3 separate regions of the Homo sapiens genome follow, and all the other regions are linked to region 2. The links are contacts of gene promoters, found by promoter capture Hi-C in blood cells and fetal thymus (Javierre and others, 2016). All regions are on one chromosome and are shown on one strand. The core of a region is centred on a gene start or on the middle of the fragment in contact, and the rest is flanking DNA. Distances in the headings are between cores, read along the strand shown. Region 1 overlaps FANK1 (fibronectin type III and ankyrin repeat domains 1). Region 2 holds the start of ADAM12 (ADAM metallopeptidase domain 12). Region 3 overlaps FANK1 (fibronectin type III and ankyrin repeat domains 1).

Region 1 (3,482 bases), core at 37-2,536, 430 kb before region 2:
CACTGCAGCCTTGACCTCCCAGGCTCAAGAGATCCTCCCACCTCAACCTCCCAAGTAGCTGGGACTACAGGTGTATGCCACCACACCCAGCTAACTTTTGTCGCAGCAGATTTTCGCCATGTTTCTCAGTCTGTTCTCAAACTCTGAGGCTCAAGCAATTCTCATGCCTCACCCTCTCAAAGTGCTGGGATTACAGGTGTGAGCCACTGTGCCTGGCCCCATCTTATTTTTAAATGAAGTTTTAATAAGATCTCAGTTGTATGCTTCATCTCAAGTGATTATTCAGCTCCAAAACAAATCAAGTTCCTTCCAAGTACAAAAGAATCTATGTTCTAAGGCAGTGGAAGGAAGCAGGGTTGGGGAGGATATATCATGTTCAAGGAAAATGAAAAGAACTTAATGTTTTGAAAGACTTCTAGTCAACGGAACTATGACTCATTATCCTGGATGTGATGGGAGGTGGGGGGCATTTAAGCCCACATTCCCACTTCCATTTTAAAGTCAGAATCAGGAGGAAAATGGGGATTGAGATAAAGAATTTTGCTGTATCACAGTTTGGCTGAAAGGCGTTCTGCCTAGCAAGGATGCAGGTGATTTACACACGATCTACTCTTGAAGCTTAAACCAGTACTTCTATGATACATTTTTTGGGGGGGGGGCGGTGGTGGGGGTAAAGGGAGGAAACAACCAGGATGAGGATTGAATATATTTGAAAGGAGATTCAAAGTGATGTTTATTGAGCACTTCACTTTGGAAAAGCAAAAAATCAAAGGCTGTCTTAAAGATTGTACAGAAAATATGATTTATTGGAGATATCCCTTGCCTCCAAGCTCTAATGTTAAGCCTCCAAATATAATGCAAGTTATATTGGTATAGAAAATGGGAAGGAGCAGGCAGATTTATTATGTATGAGCATGAATAATTTTTATCTTTATTGCTTTCCCACTTCAGATCAAGTTGGAATTTTTAACTTTTCACCAAAGATTCTTTGGTTTTACAGAAAATATACCACAGGTACATGAAATGTAATATATTTATTGTATAGGTTTTTAATAGTAGAAAGTAATTTTATAGTTAGGCAGTTTAAAATTAAAATTATAGTTTAGTGGTCATAAGAGTTAGATCATTGTGTGGTAACCTGTGAGTGTGTTTATTTAGCAATGATGGTGACCATGAAGGGACTCGCTCAGGCCATTTAGGAGAATATCCGACAAGCCAGAAGGAAGATGATTTTAATAACCAGGAAAAACGTAAAACTCATTATAGATTTGTATAATAAGGGCGAGTTCGGGGTAGTATAGGCTTCTAATGTACAGTGACAATCTCGCTCTGTTGTCCAGGCAGGAGTGCAATGGCGCGATCTCAGCTCACTGCAACCTCCCCATCACCCTCCCGGGTTCAAGCGATTCTCCTGCCTCAGCCTCCCGAATAGCTAGCCGGGACTACAGGTGTGTGCCAGCACACCCGGCTGTTTTCTATTTTTAGTAGAGACGGGGTTTCACCATGTTAGCTAGGATGGTCACGATCTCCTGACCTTGTGATCTGCCTGCCTTGGCCTCCCAAAGTGCTGGGATTACAGGCGTGAGCCACCGCACCTGGCTTACTGTAGACATCTTTAACATATCACAATCTTCCTTCAAATAATACCCCACTGCTTGATGTTATGCACAAGAACCTTACGACAGTATTCTTCCAGGCCCCAGACTCTGTGCTGTTGTTATCCTCTATGTTGCTTTTGCATATCCTATTAACCTCACAAAACGTTGTTATTTTTGTTGTAGGCAGACAACATATTTTATATTTACCCACATACTTGCCTTTGTTAGGGCTCTTTGTTACTTTGTGTAGATCCAGATTTGTATCTTGTATGGTTTCTCTTCTGCCTGAGGAACTTCCTTTAACATTTTGTATGGTTCAGGTGTATTAGCGATGAGCTCTCTCAGCTTGGTTTATGTTAAGCTTTTATTTTGCCTTTATTTTTATTTTTTTGAGACGGAGTCTTGCTCTGTTGCCCAGGCTGGAGTGTGCTGGCATGATCTCCACTCACTGCAACCTCCATCTCCCAAATTCAAGCAATTCTCATGCCTCAGCCTCCCGAGAAGCTGGGACTACAGGCACCCGGCACCACACCCGGCTGATTTTTGTACTTTTAGTAGAGATGGGATTTTACCATGTTGTCCATGCTGGTCGCAAACTCCTGGCCTCAGGTAATCCCTTCGCCTTGGCCTCCCAAAGTGCTGAGGTTATAGGCGTGAGCCACCATGCCCGGCCTTGCCTTTATTTTTTAAAGATAATGTCACTAGGTAAAGAGTTCTAGTTTGACACACTTTCCTTCTGAGTACTTTTTTTTTAATATTTAAAAAATTGGTTTCTTTTACATTTTTAATTGACTTTTTTGGCCCATATTTATGGGGTATATAGTGATGTTTTGGTGCATAAAGTGTACAGTGATCGCATCAGGGTAATTAGCATATCGTCTGGAACATTATTTTGGGAGGGTGAACATTAAATATTCTCTTTCTAGCTATTTGAAACTATGTATTACTGTTAACTATAGTCATTCTACAGTACTGTAGAACTCTAGAACTAATTCCTCCTATCTAGCTGTAATTTTGTATCCTTTAGCAAACCTCTTCCTATCTCTCTGCTCCCTTTACCCTTCCCAGCCTCTAGTATCCTCTGTTCTCTTTTTTACTTCTGTGTGATCAACATTTTTTTTAGCTTCTGTATTAGTCTGTTTTCACATTGCTATGAAGAACTGCCCGAGACTGGGTAATTTAAAAAGAGGCTTAATTGATTCATAGTTCTGCATGGCTGAAGAGGCCTCAGGAAACTTACAATCAGGGTGAAAGAGGAAGCAGGCATGTCTTACGGGGTTTCGCCATGTTGGCCAGGCTAGGTCTCGAACTCCTGGTCTCAAGTGATTGGCCAGCCTTGGCCTCCTAAGGTGCTGGGATTACAGGCATGAGCCACCATGCCAAGCCTTTTGTAGTTTTTTGAGGAACCTCCATACTGTTTTCCATAGCGGCTATACTACTTTACATTCCCACCAAGAGTGTTTAAGAGTTCCCTTTTCTCTACATCCTCACTAGCATTTGTTATTTTGTCTTTTGATAATAGCCATCCTCCAGTGAGGTGATACCTCACTGTGATTTAGAGTTGCATTTCCCTTTATAATTAATAATGTTGAGCATTTAAAAAATATATTTCTTGGCCATTTGTTTGTCTTCTTTTGAGAAATGTCTTTAGATCATTTGCCTATATTTAAGTTGCATAGTTTGAGAATACAAACAAATGGAAAGACATCCCATGCTCATGGATCAGAGGAATTAATTTTTTTGAATTAAGCAGAAATTTTATTTCCAAGCTCTTTAAAGATTATTGCAAACACAAAGTTGTCTTCTGAAAGCCCCAAATCAAATCAAAGGCACGGCATCAAAATAAATAAAACACTTGTGACATTAAGAATTATTTTAGGTTGT
Region 2 (3,580 bases), core at 733-3,232:
AATAGGTAACCCATTCAAAGTGCTTAGGCCTCCCTGGTTTTCTATTTTGGGTCATATCTGTCTTAAGGAAACACTCTCTCTACCAAAGCTGAACTCATAAAATAGTAAAAGTCCTCCCCCGCCCACACACACAAGAAATAATTTCCCATTATTAGCTGGATTTAATAAACATTTTCTTCCAAAAAAAAAATTTGTCCCTGCTCAGTAGACTTCTCTTTATGTGTACAAAGCACGTGCCAAGTTAAAGACCATGTCAGGCACACTTTGAGACACTTTCCGTTTTTTAAAAAGTTCTTTCTTAATAAACATTCAAAAGGACCAATTTGTTTAAAAGTCTTTCAAAGCACAATTCACTACAGGTCGTAGAGTTCTTTAAACCCTCAGCAGGATTCTTTCTTGACTTTCTCATTGCTTTGTGCAATCTTTGTATTTAATCATTTATCCCCGAATTGGTCTTCGCAGTGTGGCTTTTAACAAGAACTGGGTTTTAGCCACATTACAGTAGACGCGGTGGGGGCGGAGGGCAGCAGTGGCAATCGCAAAATAAAACGTATCATAAAGTGGTAACGGTTCGTGATTTAGGCCAGTTGTTGAAAAATAAATGCCTGTTATATAGAATCACAGAACTTGAGAGCTTGCGGCCAAGGGAAGTCGTTCATCGGTGGACCGACAGCGCCCCGGGCGGCAGAAAGAAGGCGGCGGCGGCGGAGACCCGGGGAAGTTGCCGGATTTTTAAAAAGGCACCTGCTGGGTGAGTCCTCACTGTGCAAACGGGAGCCACAGGTGCCCGATTTTAAGGGGCTACAACTCGGGAAAACCTAAGTCTGTAAAACTAAGTACGTTAAACTAAGTAAGTTCTCGCTGTGCACCAAGTTGATGGGGGCGATTATTTACGGCGGAGAAACTGAGTGGAGGAAGGAGGGAGAATTCCGCTAAAGTTTGCCTGCGACTGACAGCTAGGGAGTGACCTGGAAGCCAGGAAGAGGGGCAGAGAGGAAACTAAAGAAGTAGGTAAGAGAGTCAGTTTATGAAAATAGAGCCTGCTGTGGAGAGCAGCAGGCACACCTGCGGAGGAGGGGGCTGCCTCACCTGCGGGGCCGCTGCGCGCCCCCCTAAGTGTGTTAGCGGGGGAGGCGGGGCTGGAAAGGAAACCTGGTGAAGGGCTGGCCCGGAGCCTGGGGTGGGGATATTCACTGCGGGATAGGGCCAGCAAGAGGACCCGACACGCATCGTCCCGAGTGACACGTGTAAATGTCAAGATACAGAGACATCTGCAAATGTCACCCAAGAGGGTGAGGACGGGGGAGCGGTCCCGAGGCTGTGCCCTCCGGGGCAGGTACTGGCTCCTGTGGGGCTGCGGGCCAAGTGTCGCCCTTCCCCAAGGAATTGGCACCTGGGGGGGGGGGGTCGGTCTCGCCGCGCTGGAAGCGCAAGCCCCGGGGCTCCGGAGATGCGCCGGGGCGCGTCGCCCCTCGGGGCAGCCCTGGACCTCGGCGCGCCCAGGCGCAGCGTGCGGTGCCCTCGGCGGGGCGGGCAGCGAGCCGCCCTAGTTCGGCGACTTACCTCGGGCCTCGCAGGGCGCGAGCAGAGCACCGGCCAGGGCGAGCAGGAGGGCGCGGGCGGGGGACACGGGCAGCGGGCGCGCTGCCATCGTCGCCGGCCTTCAGTGCAGCAGCTCTCGGGCCCGGCGGCGAGCGCTGCACCATCCCACGCGGGCGCCGAGCCGGGGCCGGGCGTCGCGACCGGAGGGATTTCCTGCCTCGGCGAGTCAGCTCCGGAGCCCTCGCGCAGCGCCCGCGCCGCCGCTGAGCTCTTCTAGCCTTTCATTTTTAAAAAAGTTTCCCCCCGTGTGTGTGCGTGCGTGCGCGCGCGCGCGCCGTTCTGGCACAAGCCAGCCTTGACCGTTGCAATAAATGAGCAAACTGTCCGAGTTGGCCCGGGGACTAGGAAGAGCGTTAGTGAGAGAAGGCAGGCCTGTGAAATGGATCCACGGCCAGCAGTCACCGTTCTTATTACCGCGGAACAAATTATTGTCTCCCCCGCACCCCCGCCAGTTGGCGGCGTCCCGCGGGTCCTAGAGACCGCTCGGGTCCCCCCGCCAGGGTCCCGCCCCGAGCCGCGGCTCGCTCACCCCCGAGGGTGGGCGGCTCAGACGTGGCTCAGTGGCGTCCGGGCGCCCGGAGCGCACACGTCCCCGCCCCAGGATGATGTGGCCGCAGGGCCCGGGGCGCCCGGCTGCCAAGCGCACATGCGGCGGCACGGTCCAGCTTTTCAGGCTGAAGCTGGAAACGATGACTCTGCTACTCGCTCCCCGGCTCTCTGGGAACCCTCGGAGTGCGGGTCAGGTCTCCACCGCGGCCCACAGCCCGGCGCGCGACCCCGCCCGGCCCTAAGCGCCCAAAGGGGCATCTCTCGCCCGAGAAACAAGCTTGGACTCGCAGGCACAAGACACCTGGGCGTTACTTTTGATCAACAGTGTTAGGTTTTACGTTGATAGATTGGCTCACGTTTCCATTCCATGACCTGGACCCAGAAAAGGGTGTACAGTGACGTTCCCCAAACTTTCCTGATTGTAAGAAGCACCTGGGTTGGCTTGTTAAAAAGATTCCCGGGCGCCCTCCTACGCTTTCAGAATGAGACTCTCCAGGCTGTGAGGCCAGGGGAGCCCAGGGTGTTTGGAGAAACACCAATGAAAGAATGGTGCGCCTTGCCTTCTCATCCTTGTTCCGGGCTGACCCCACCTCTTCAGCCTCGCTCGGCCCTCAGGGAGACCATGAAAAGCAGCAGCGAGGGGGCCCGCACAGACAGAAATGGCTGGAGCTATGGAGGATGGCTGATGCCCACCCTGCGGGTTACCATGATTCCCAACCTTGGGGACTTATTAGAATAGTAAGAGTTAAAGACATTGCCAGCCCCAGACACCAGTTAACTCAGTTTCCCACAATGCGTGGAGCTCAATAGTTTTCAAAGCCTCAGGTGATTCTACTGTGCTGCTCAGACCTAGGACCACCTGCAGAAATTCCATCCTGGTCCTGCGACCTCGCACCGATTCCTGACGGAGCACCCACTCCTAGGAGGCGGTTATCCAGCATTTGAGGAAGCTGCCTTCCATACCATCTCTTCCCACTGCAGAGGAGTTTTCTCAGGAGTTCCCTCCCACGGCAGGTTTTGCAGTGTTCCCAAAACCCAGGTCGATCCTCCTAACAAGGTGCAGGACTTTCTTTTTAAAAAACCTTAGTGGGAAGCACAGGCTCTCCAGCCCCCTTCCCAATGCTGCCATATCTCAGTACCAGATCTGGAAACCAGGCCTGGTTCAAGCCCTGTGTCATATCTAACCGTACTACCAACCAGCGTTGCAGTGTACTTCTTTTGTTCATTCATTCAGTCAATCTACATGAGCAACCCTATGTTAGAACTTGGGAAACTAAACGAGAAAGCCTCTTGCCTTCAAAGACTTTTCTTTCTGATCAAACTGATAAATCATCATTATTGGACAGTGTGAGCTAGTTACTTAACCTAGTTAATAATGATTAGGCTTGTTTACTGATATGGTTTGGCTGTGTCCCCACCCAAATCTCAT
Region 3 (3,391 bases), core at 613-3,112, 380 kb before region 2:
ATCAACTCAAATTGAGAAAAGTCATGTCTCCTGGAAGATGTCAGTAGATTTCTTCTAGTTTGTTTCTGAAGGGTAATTGAGGGAAAGTGAGACTGCAGTTATGGGATCTATCTGGTTCCTGCTGCTGCTTTTGGAGAATTAAGAAAAGTGCCCCCTTATAGGAAAAATCTCAGTCATTAAAAATTTATTACATTTCTTATTTTCCTTATGTTTTAGAGACAGGCACAGAGGCAGAAGGCTGAGTCAGTGGGCTTCCATAGTAGAGCCGGGCCCACGTGCCATGTGTGGTAGTGACAGCCACACACTCCTTGATTGGTTTATGATGAATTCTGGGCAGGTTTTGCACCTAGTGAAAGTCTGTGGTTGAAAAAGAAGGTTGTACTTTGCTGAAAGAAGTCAAGCATCGGGGCCGGGCACAGTGGCTTATGCCTGTAATCCCAGCACTTTGGGAGGCCAAGGCGGGTGGATCACTTGAGGTCAGGAGTTTGAGACCAACCTGGCCAACATGGTGAAACCCTGTCTCTACTAAAAATACAAAAATTAGCCAGGCGTGGTGGTGGGCACCTGTAATCCCAGCTATTAGGGAGGCTGAAGCAGGAGAATTGCTTGAACCCAGGAGGTGGAGGTTGCAGTGAGCCAAGATTGTGCCACTGCACTCCAGCCTGGGTGACAGAGTGAGACTCCATCTCAAATAAATAAATCATTCACAATAGGGCAAATCTCTGCTATCAACATTTAAATACTGGAGTTTTGGAAATGTAGGCTCTCTGGGCTTCAGATATGAATATACTTATTTGGGATAAATTCCATCTTTCTTTGAAGCACTGGAACTACTTTGCAGAGGACAGAACAATAAGCATGGATGTGTTTACTATAGATTTCCACATGACTGGCCTGGTGGCGGATGGATGATGTCAACATGAGTCTTTCCATATTCTGGCAGGTGGCTCACCTGATGCTTCTGAAGCCCATGGGAAGGACTTGAGAGCCAATCACCACCTTCTTCCCAAATGTAATGATCATATACTAAGAGTGACTTATTTACTTGGCGACTGACTTATTCATTTGTGCATTTAATGATCCATGTGATCTCAGGAAAGGCACTTCTCTGAGGTTTATTTTGATTGTTTGTAAACCAAGAATAAAAATACCTACCTCTGATTAACGTTTAGGACCAAAAGAGAAAGTGTGTGTAAAGAGGGTTGAAAGCTGTGTAAAGCATCATGTAATATGAGGTGCTTATTTTATTATTCTTTAAATATAATGGAGTGTGTTGCCCACAGGTTAGTTCTTTGCATGAAGAAGAGCTGCAAATCCAAATCATGTTACAGTGGATAATCTTATATGTAGAAATACCCTGAAGTGCTCCCAAGATCTCCTGGAAATTCCTTGTTTGTTTTTCCATTCTGATGTTTTACTAAAGCTATGGATCATCTTTGAGTAATTCTTCTGTAACAGATTGTGTGTGTGCGTGCACGTGCTCATGTGTGCTTATGTGCACATGGTATGCGTGTGTGCACACACGAGTGTGTGTGCGTGTCTGAGCACAAACACGTATCTGTCTTTACTTCAGCACCACTCTTCATGGATTGGCGATGTCTTCATTGGAATTGGAAGCGACAATATTTACATTTTCTTAATCTAAAATATTTATTTTAAAACACTAAATTGAGAGATTTCAGTGTAGAGAAGATGATCAGGAAACAGCCATCTGATTACTGGGCACACTGTTTTGGAGAAGCCTTTAGTCAGACTTTTCAGACAGAGTTTGTGTAATGAATCTGGTTGTTCTGTATTTTACCTGTAGGTCTCCTGCCTAAAATTGATAAGTATTAGTAAGTATAAGTGTGTATATATATTATTACTGTCTTGTTCCAGAAAGGATGTAAAGCTGCTTACAACAATACATAAAAGTAAGAAAAATGAATGCTAGGTGAGGAAAGTTAGGCAAGAGAAAATAAGAACTCCCCAGGGGCCAAGTGGAAAGTAGTTCAGTTAACTTTTCTAGCCCATCTTTTTTCCACTTTAAAGGATGTAGATGAAGAAGCCGGTGGGGAGACCCTGGGGCCTCTCAGCACCAAAATGTGACTTAAATTAGCACAGTGCAATGAACCAAATATAGAAAGACGGCTATCTAAGTCCGGGTGTTGGGGCAAGCAAATATTCCTTTTATAAGTTTGAATCATTTTAAGAAAAAGAAATTGGGCTCAACACAGCTGTTTCTCTGGCCCAACAGGTAGACGTCGTGGACACTGGTTCAGGATGGACCCCACTCATGAGAGTCTCTGCGGTGTCGGGAAATCAGAGGGTGGCCTCTCTTCTAATTGATGCTGGGGCCAATGTGAATGTGAAGGACAGAAATGGAAAGACGCCCCTTATGGTAGGTCCTCCTCCCGAAAATAGGCAGTTTTCTACGTGGAATTAATGTCAGAGCTTTTTCTGTAATTAGACAATTCTTGTGAGTTCAGCCCTGCACCAGCCCTTGGGTTTGACTGTGTGTGTGTGTTCCCTGTCGGCTTGTTCATAAGGGCATGAGGCTGTCACTAGAATACTTTCGTTGTCTTTTTACAACTATTTAAGGACTAAAGAACCCCTGTCCCCAGGACCACTGTGGGATCAAAACAGAACTGGTGAAACAAAGAACAAGCTGCTTTCTGTTCTGGTTTTAGTGTGGATAGAGGGAGTCCATTTTCCATTTTCTCTGGAGTTGCTACCATACAGCTGCAGAGGAAGCGCTGTGCCTGCAGGCCATGCAAAGCCACAGTGGTCTTTTGGGGTTGCAGGGGGGCTGCTGGGACCCTGCATGTGCCAGGCTCATGCCCCCTGCTGTGTGTGCCCTGGAGGGAGAAGCTCATGCACACCACCCTGGGTTTTGTTTTCTAGGTGGCTGTGTTAAATAATCATGAAGAGTTAGTTCAGTTACTTCTTGACAAAGGGGCAGATGCAAGTGTAAAAAATGAGGTAAATGAGTCCATCTTTATGTAAAGATTTTCCTCGGAGGGGGAGAAAACATTTATAAGCATGTAAAATTTTTGTTGTTTCCTGTTTCAGTTCGGCAAAGGTGTCCTAGAAATGGCCAGAGTTTTTGACAGACAGGTTGGGATGCTCTTTCTGCCTATCAAGGCTAATTTTTAGTCCTTCTAGACTCAGAAAAACCACCAAAACCCTGGATTACATTCGCCTGTCTGTTTTGTTTATCTAGAGTGTAGTCTCCTTATTAGAAGAAAGGAAAAAAAAGCAGAGGCCAAAGAAGTCTTGTGTCTGCTGATGAGAGCACCACTCATCTGCGAAACGCACGTAAAACAAAGTGAACCGTGACTGTTAAACTAGGGATGGGAAATTCTGCATCTTGGGGGGCTGTACATTTATTTATTTAGTTGAAGATTCACTG

The links. Contacts are between HindIII fragments. The CHiCAGO score rates a contact against its expected background, and 5 or more counts as called.
Region 1: a fragment that was not itself captured here is called in contact with the fragment with the promoter of ADAM12 in region 2 in 5 of 17 cell types (M1 macrophages, M2 macrophages, endothelial precursors and 2 more); the score reaches 9.5 in M1 macrophages.
Region 3: a contact is called between a fragment that was not itself captured here and the fragment with the promoter of ADAM12 in region 2, in 2 of 17 cell types (M0 macrophages and M1 macrophages). The highest score is 5.1, in M0 macrophages.

Annotation. Positions count from the first base shown.
Region 1 is chr10:125,955,554-125,959,035 of GRCh38, forward strand. The region is part of intron 1 of FANK1 (fibronectin type III and ankyrin repeat domains 1); the gene reads left to right. It also overlaps the pseudogene GNG10P1. Among named protein-coding and RNA genes, the nearest start is that of FANK1-AS1, 16 kb to the right of the region's middle. The HindIII fragment of the contact is 1,341 bases long and covers 617-1,957 here.
Region 2 is chr10:126,386,495-126,390,074 of GRCh38, forward strand. ADAM12 (ADAM metallopeptidase domain 12) reads right to left here and starts at 1,983. Exons shown (of 23, transcript NM_001288973.2): 1 at 1,564-1,983. The coding sequence starts at 1,651. The HindIII fragment of the contact is 6,902 bases long and covers 1-2,426 here.
Region 3 is chr10:126,006,171-126,009,561 of GRCh38, forward strand. It overlaps FANK1 (fibronectin type III and ankyrin repeat domains 1), which reads left to right. Exons shown (of 11, transcript NM_145235.5): 8 at 2,237-2,380; 9 at 2,884-2,961; 10 at 3,052-3,096; 11 at 3,203-3,391. The coding sequence ends at 3,268. Among named protein-coding and RNA genes, the nearest start is that of FANK1-AS1, 35 kb to the left of the region's middle. The HindIII fragment of the contact is 4,731 bases long and covers 1-3,391 here.